Linked DNA regions of Homo sapiens: region 1 is linked to region 2. Evidence: promoter capture Hi-C in human tissues and cell types (Jung and others, 2019). All regions are on one chromosome and are shown on one strand. The core of a region is centred on a gene start or on the middle of the fragment in contact, and the rest is flanking DNA. Distances in the headings are between cores, read along the strand shown. Region 1 overlaps ERCC6L2 (ERCC excision repair 6 like 2). Region 2 holds the start of FANCC (FA complementation group C).

What was found. The method cuts DNA at HindIII sites, captures the fragments that hold promoters and counts their contacts. A contact is called where the count stands out against the background at its distance.
Region 1: a fragment that was not itself captured here is called in contact with the fragment with the promoter of FANCC in region 2 in 1 of the 25 tissues and cell types used here (dorsolateral prefrontal cortex).

What each region holds. Positions count from the first base shown.
Region 1 is chr9:96,007,373-96,010,549 of GRCh38, forward strand. All of the region lies in intron 18 of ERCC6L2 (ERCC excision repair 6 like 2), which reads left to right. Among named protein-coding and RNA genes, the nearest start is that of LINC00092, 13 kb to the right of the region's middle. The HindIII fragment of the contact is 4,239 bases long and covers 1-3,177 here.
Region 2 is chr9:95,315,992-95,319,555 of GRCh38, forward strand. FANCC (FA complementation group C) reads right to left here and starts at 1,718. Exons shown (of 15, transcript NM_000136.3): 1 at 1,535-1,718. RefSeq lists a silencer at 1,070-1,389. The HindIII fragment of the contact is 11,527 bases long and covers 1-3,564 here.

The DNA of each region.
Region 1 (3,177 bases), core at 414-2,913, 690 kb after region 2:
TGGATATTGATGTTATCAAGAATGATGGCAAGAGATGGGGTGGGAAGCAAGATTAATCCAGGATCTTGAGAGTTTAGCTGCTAGCAGGAAGCAATGAAGGGGTCACTGAAGATTGAGGAGAGAACAGTTTAGCTGGATGGCATAAATGTTAAAGAGGGGAAGGAGTTTTCTGAGAAAAGAATGGTCTGGAAGCAGCATTGTCTAGAAGCACTAACCCTGAGGTTGGAGAGCTGTGAGATGCAAGAGCCTTGCCTTGCAAGGGCCGCATGGGAAGAGGCAATATCAGCAGAGCACAGGACCATTCAGCATAGAAGCAGAAGACTCGGGGGACTCTTGGTTCCAGGGGCACGGAGGGATGGCTTGGAAGGGTGAGGGATTGGATTAGATCAAGATGTACAGTAGGAGGAGATGAGAGGCCAGTGGTAATGGATGACAGAAGTGAACAGGGATGGGAGGCATGGTTGGACTGGTCCTGCTGGCTTCTGGGGGCAGTGGGAAATGTCTCTGGGTTCAAAGTACTTCCTGCAGGGGTTTGGCGACTCCCAGGCAGCTGGTTCCTCAGCTGCCCAGGGAAGAGCTGGCCCCGCAGCTCTTTGGAGTGCTGGCGTGGCTGGTTGGAGTATGGCTCTCAGCTCTCTGCAGTTGCAGAGAAAGGTGACCACCTTCCACACTGCCACACAGTGTACCTACCCACAGAACAGATCGGCAACAAGGATTTTTGCAGAGTGTGCCTTTTCACTTTGGGCAAATATTTTGCCAGGAGACTGACCATATACCTTTTTTTCCCTAAGTTTGCATGCGTTCTCTGTTCTCGATCGCCTCCAAGAGCCATGTTGGGACACTGGTTTGTTCTGTTCTGGGCTTCAATGTCAGTGCAACTTTAATATCTTCCCTAGATATATTGTATGCTGCTTATAGTCCTTTTTCATCTTCTTTGCTCACCAGTGCCTTCTTAAAAGGTGGTTTTGAAGCTGCCTCTTCAACCTCATGATCAGTAAGTTTGGAGGGGGACTCCTTTGTTGACTGGTAGTCTCTGAGTGAATTATCTAGCTTTCTTTTCCATGTATTTGTGACCTTACAGAGATTAGGGAACTTTGCAGGTGTTAATTCTTTGTGCCCTCTGAGTCAGAAGACTAAGAAATGGAAGTTCTTCCCCATGTTTCTCAATGAGTCGTCCTTCAATGCTCATGAATTTCATTATGTCACAACCTGCACCAGGGAGCAGTGAGGCATGATTGAATCCTTCCTCAATGAAACTTCACATTATAACATATGAGGTCATTTCAGAAAAGGTTGTGATGAGCTTAAACTGACTTATGAAGGCACACCCAGTGACCCCAAGGTTAGGGTCGGTACCAAGTTGAAAGAGTAATCGTGTTATCTTGATGTCAAGACCCTTGCTAGCTAGTCATGCTGCGGCTTCGTTGAAGTCACATGCTGGGTTGAGTTTGACAGAGGTTGTGGTGCCTCCTGGCTTGACAGCTGAGAGTAGAGCACTGAATCTTTTGTTTATCTGCTGCATCAGGTTACAGCTGGGTTTGCACACAGCATTATAGATAAGCGAGAAAGCAGCCTTCACAGCCTTGCACTTGGTGGTAACATTACCCATTTTTCCAGTCAGGTATGCACCATGGTGCTATTTTTATTTTGCCTTTCTCTCCAACAATTGATCTGTCCAGCCTGATGAAATCCTTCAGCTCCGGCACCAGATCAGATGTTGCAATCAGCATTGTGAAAGTGACTGATACAGCACCTGCTGTGGTCGGGGAGTTTGCTTTTGGAATGGACACAATGCTGTACAGCATGCTGCATACGCATCTTGAGCCGTGGGCAGAGCGATGACAGACTCGTCAGCTTCGTTGAGTTCTAGTGGCATGTTCAAGTGTTTCAATCACTATGTGCCTTATTGGCTTTGGTTACCAATTAGGGATGTAGAAGTAAAACTGTCCAACCATGTACATTTTACCACCCTCTTTTCCATTAACTGTCCTAGTCAATCAGAATCAAGACTGCACCTCCCTCTACTGCAGTCACATGATCATCTGAATGAAGTGTTCAGTCCTCCTCTCCTTCCGGAAGCTTAGGCAGACAGAAGATGAATTTAGGTGTGTTCCACCTCCCTTCCTCCAGAAAGAGAGAGGATTTTGAATTGTATCCATGATACATAACTGCTTTTGATACACTTGCTGAAAGATACATATCTTTGGTTTCTTTTTTTCCCCCTTTCCCTAAGTGGGTTATGGAAGTCTACTCTAGTTAACTAACTTTTCTTCACAAACTGGCTGGCTTATGCCCCCTGTTTGTACCCTGCAGTTCCTTAAATTCTTAGAGAAAATTCTGAAGGCCCAGAATTAGGAAAGCCAGTTAAAAGGCAGAAATAAAGTGAATGATAATTATAGCTTATCCTGTAAGCAGCAACCATGTGGCATAGTGTACTTGCAGACTACTCAGATAAAATGAGGTTAGAAGCAGCTCTCCTCCCAGAGGTGACAGCTCACAGGGTCACGGGTGAGGTCGTGGTTTCAGCACAGCAGAGGTGAAGTTACTTTGGCAGTTGCTGAGACACCACCAAGCCTTGGATAAATAAAAGACATCAGCTTGTAACCTTGCCAATCACTTAATCTTTACAAACACAAATATTTAATAGAAGGGCCATGAAAATGGATTTGAAGATGAAAAATAGACAGAATAATATCTCATTACTTCATGTGAAGTGAAAACTGGAACCTCTTAAGAACATGCTTGTTACTTTCCAACAAGAACATTGGCAATTTCCAGGACAGAAAGTTGGAGTCATGTGTATGTGTTACTAAATATTCTGTTGGAGATGAAAGTGGCTGTTGATCAAGCATGTATAGTATCTGGATTTCGGGAAGTTAACAAGACAGTGTAGTGAGGACTAGAAGCCACAGGCCCATCTGAAGCCACAAAAGAAAGTTGTGAGTGTGCTTTATGGTCTGCCCCTAAAAGCAAAGGAAACACAAACTATGTAACCTGGTCTACGTGGCAGAAAGAAAAGTGGCATTGAAGCTCCTACTAACATACATTAAAAGTAATTTTTTTAATGCTAAGGATTCTCTGTTTTGCATAGGATAAAATTCAAACTTCTAAACTTGGCCTACGGACCCCCTATGATTTTTAGCCTCTTCCTTGCAGTTTCTCCTGCCCCTCTGTGAA
Region 2 (3,564 bases), core at 468-2,967:
TGCTTTTTATTAGAGGACAAAACAAAAAATACCAATATAGAGCCTGCTTTTCTTTTCTGATGCCTTGGTAAACGTTTTTGGAGAAATCAAGAGAAAATATGACCGAATAAAGCAAAAATAAATTCGAATGTATAATATACAAAGTATAATTAGTCCAGTTCTCAAGAAGCAGGCTCTATTACTGGGAGTAGTGGGTTGGTGAAAAAGATCTCTGATATATCTAGGAAAACAAATTCTTTTTCGATGCAGCCTTTCTTGTATATGAATAATGTATATGAGTGCTTATTTCCAGGTGACTCTGGTACAGCACATAACATTGAAACATCAATTCAAGTTTAATGTATAAAGTCGCAATGAACATGTTTTCCATCTAAGCTTAGGTAATGAATGATCTCAACACATGGTATGAATTCTACTGTTTGTAACAACCTTTCAGGGGAGTAAGGAGAAAACGATCTGTCTGAGGGCATATCACTGACAGTGAGTGACAGCCACAAAGAGCTGAAGTTGGGTGGCCCAAAAGTGCTCTGCTCATTTGATAAATGCTAAGTCAAATCACATCACAGTTTAGATGCATTAAATGGGGCACAAGTTAGAATAAAATCAGATGCCCGGGAGTTTTCCAAGTTTCAGATTAGAACAAAAGTCCAGGCACATACAGGACTTTGCTAGAAAACTCCTTGGTCTCTTCCCTTAAGATTCTGGTACCCAATTTCCCATGTTATAAAACTCCAAGTCTTTTCCCCCATTCGGTGCGCTGGACACATAAGATCATAGAGGGTTCGTAGTTGTAAACGCACCCACCTAAAAAATTAAAAAGAGCAAACCAACAAACAGCACCTGAAAAATCTCTCACGGGCTTTGAAGATATGGCCTGGCGTCCACAAAAAGAATGGAGGGAAGACACTGGCCTCTGCGAACCCGCCTCCCTCCGGGAATAAAAGGCGGAGGGCGGGAGGGGTAACAGCCGCGCCCCGGGCTCCTCTAATTGGACCTCGCCCCTCCTGGCGCCCCGGCGAATGGGGTTTGGGGGCAGGGGTGTGAGGGACGGGGAGGACGAGGCCAGCTGTAGAGGGCGACCGGCTCAAAGGGGCGAGCTTTTCACGGCTCCCACGAGTCCGAGGCAGAGAAATTCACCTTTGCTCCTCTCCTTTGAAGAAGACATAGCTGCCTGCGCTCAATGAACAAAAAGAACCAAAACGCCAACACCCGGCTCCCGCCTCTCCGGGGGCTCCCTTCCGCGCGACCCCAGCGCCGGCTCCCGCCCCCGCTTTCCCCGCCCTGGCCCCGCCCCGCGGGCTGGCACCGCCCGCCACCTTCCGCCTCCCGCCTCCCGCCTCCCGCCTCAGCCTTAGCCACAGCCCTGCGCCGGCGGGAACCCCTCTCGCCCACCGCAAGGCGCGCCTGGCCCACCCGCTCTCGCGAGCCTTCCCTCTTGCCCCTCGCCTCCTCCTCCCGCTCTCGCCGCTGACGTGTCGGCCAGACCCCCGAGGGAAGCCTCCGCCCTCGCTGCGTTCTGCGGCCTGCCGCTTACCGGGTGGTCCTCGCGGGAGCTGCTTCAGCAGTTTGGGCAGTGGCGGAAAGGAAGCCACCGCCCGGGATCTGTGGCTTGAAAATTTGGCTTTGCCTCGTATTGGCTTTTTGAGTTTTTTTGGAATTTTCCCGCGGTCGCCCGGCAGTGGAGCCGCGCGCGCGCACACGTGTCAGCAGTGCATTCTGGGGCCTGGCTAGCGGCCCCGCGCGCTCCCGCGGCGTCGCGGGAAAATTCCGACGAATCTCGGGTCCGTGGGGCGGGGCGGGCGCGGCCAGGGCTCTGGCGGAAGTGGGCCCGGCTGGGGCGGGTTCTAGGCGAGCGGAGTCGGTACTGCTCCAGTGTTCCCGGTTTCGCGCGGAAGCCCCGGCGGGAGCAGGGTTGCAGCAGCGCCCGCGGAGAAGGGGCGCTGGCTTCTTCCATATTCTGTTCAAAATGTAGGGGAGGTAAAATGGAAATTAGTTCTTTTGAAGAAAAGTTGAGGCTTTGTCAACGGGGTAAAACCTCTAAAATAAGATTTTCTAACTGCGTTCTAAACAATAGCAACAAAAAAGGCATCTTCAGTTAATGATTTCCCCTACCGTACATTAGTTCCATACAGTGTTTGGTCGGGGTTCAAATCAGTTCAACGCTGTACATAAACCACCCAAACAAATATTAATAAAATTTTCTCCAAACTCCCATTTATGACAATGGCATTAGCTTGTCTTGGTGAATTTTTTTTTCTTCTAGGATCTGACGACTTAAGCTTTAAAATGTCTTAAATCAATGCCTCACAACCATAAATCATAATCATAAAACTACAGCTTAGGTCGGGCGCTGTGTCTCAGGCCTGTAATCCCAGCACTTTGGAAGGCCAAGGCGGGCGGATCACGAGGTCAGAAGATCGAGACCATTCTGGCCAACATGGTGAAACGCCGTCTCTACTAAAAATACAAAACGTTTAACCGGGCGCGGTGGCGGGCGCCTGTAATCTCAGCTACTCTGGAGGCTGAGGCAGAATAGCTTGAACCAGGGAGTCAGAGGTTGCAGTGAGCCGAGATCGCGCCACTGCACTCCAGCCTGGCGACAGAGGGAGACTCCGTCTCAAAAAAAAAAAAAAAAAAGCTACAACTTCACATATACGTTCAAAAACACACTACAGGCCGGGCGCGGTGGCTCACACCTCTAATCCCAGCACTTTGGGAAGCTGAGGCGGGTGGATCACCTGAGGTCAAGAGTTTGAGACCAGCCTGGCCAACATGGCAAAAACCCGTCTCTACTAAAAATACAAAAATTAGTGTGTACTCCCGGCTACTTAGGAGGCTGAGGCAGGAGAATTGCTTGAACCCAGGAGGCGAAGGTTGCAGTAAGCCAAGATCGCACTACTGCACTCCAGCCTGGGCAACAGAGCGAGACTCTGTCTCAACAAAAAACACCACAAAGCTGTGTGTGCTTGTAATAAAAATAGCTCTCAAGTATTTAAACATGTCCAACTATTCCTATGGTGAAGAAATACCCGTTTTACCAATGAATACTTTCAATTCAGAGACTAATTTGCAGAGGTTATACATTTATAAGTGATACAATAAGTATATAGCATAGCAATAGCAACAATCTGTTTAAGAATTAAAGGTAGTTAAAAAAAGGAACCGATCCAGAGGTTGAGACAAAACTGGCAGAATCTGCAACTACATTAAGGAATTCGGTGTTTACATCCATTCTCGAAACTATTCCATGCCAGTTAAGGAAGTCGGTGCTTTTTGATTGTTTTTTAATTTTAGATTCGGGGGTACATGTGCTTGCTTGTTACATAGGTATATTGTGTAATGGTGGGGATTGGGCTTCTGGTGTACCTGTCCCCCAAACATTGAACATTGTACCCAATAGCTAATTTTTCAGCCCTCACCCCCTTCCCACCCTCTCCCTTTTTGGAGTCCCCAGTGTCTTGTTATTCCCATTCTTATGTACATGTATACCTATTGTTTAGCTCCCGCTTATGAGAACATGCAATATTTGATTTTCTGTTTCTGAGTTTGTTCACTTAGGATAAT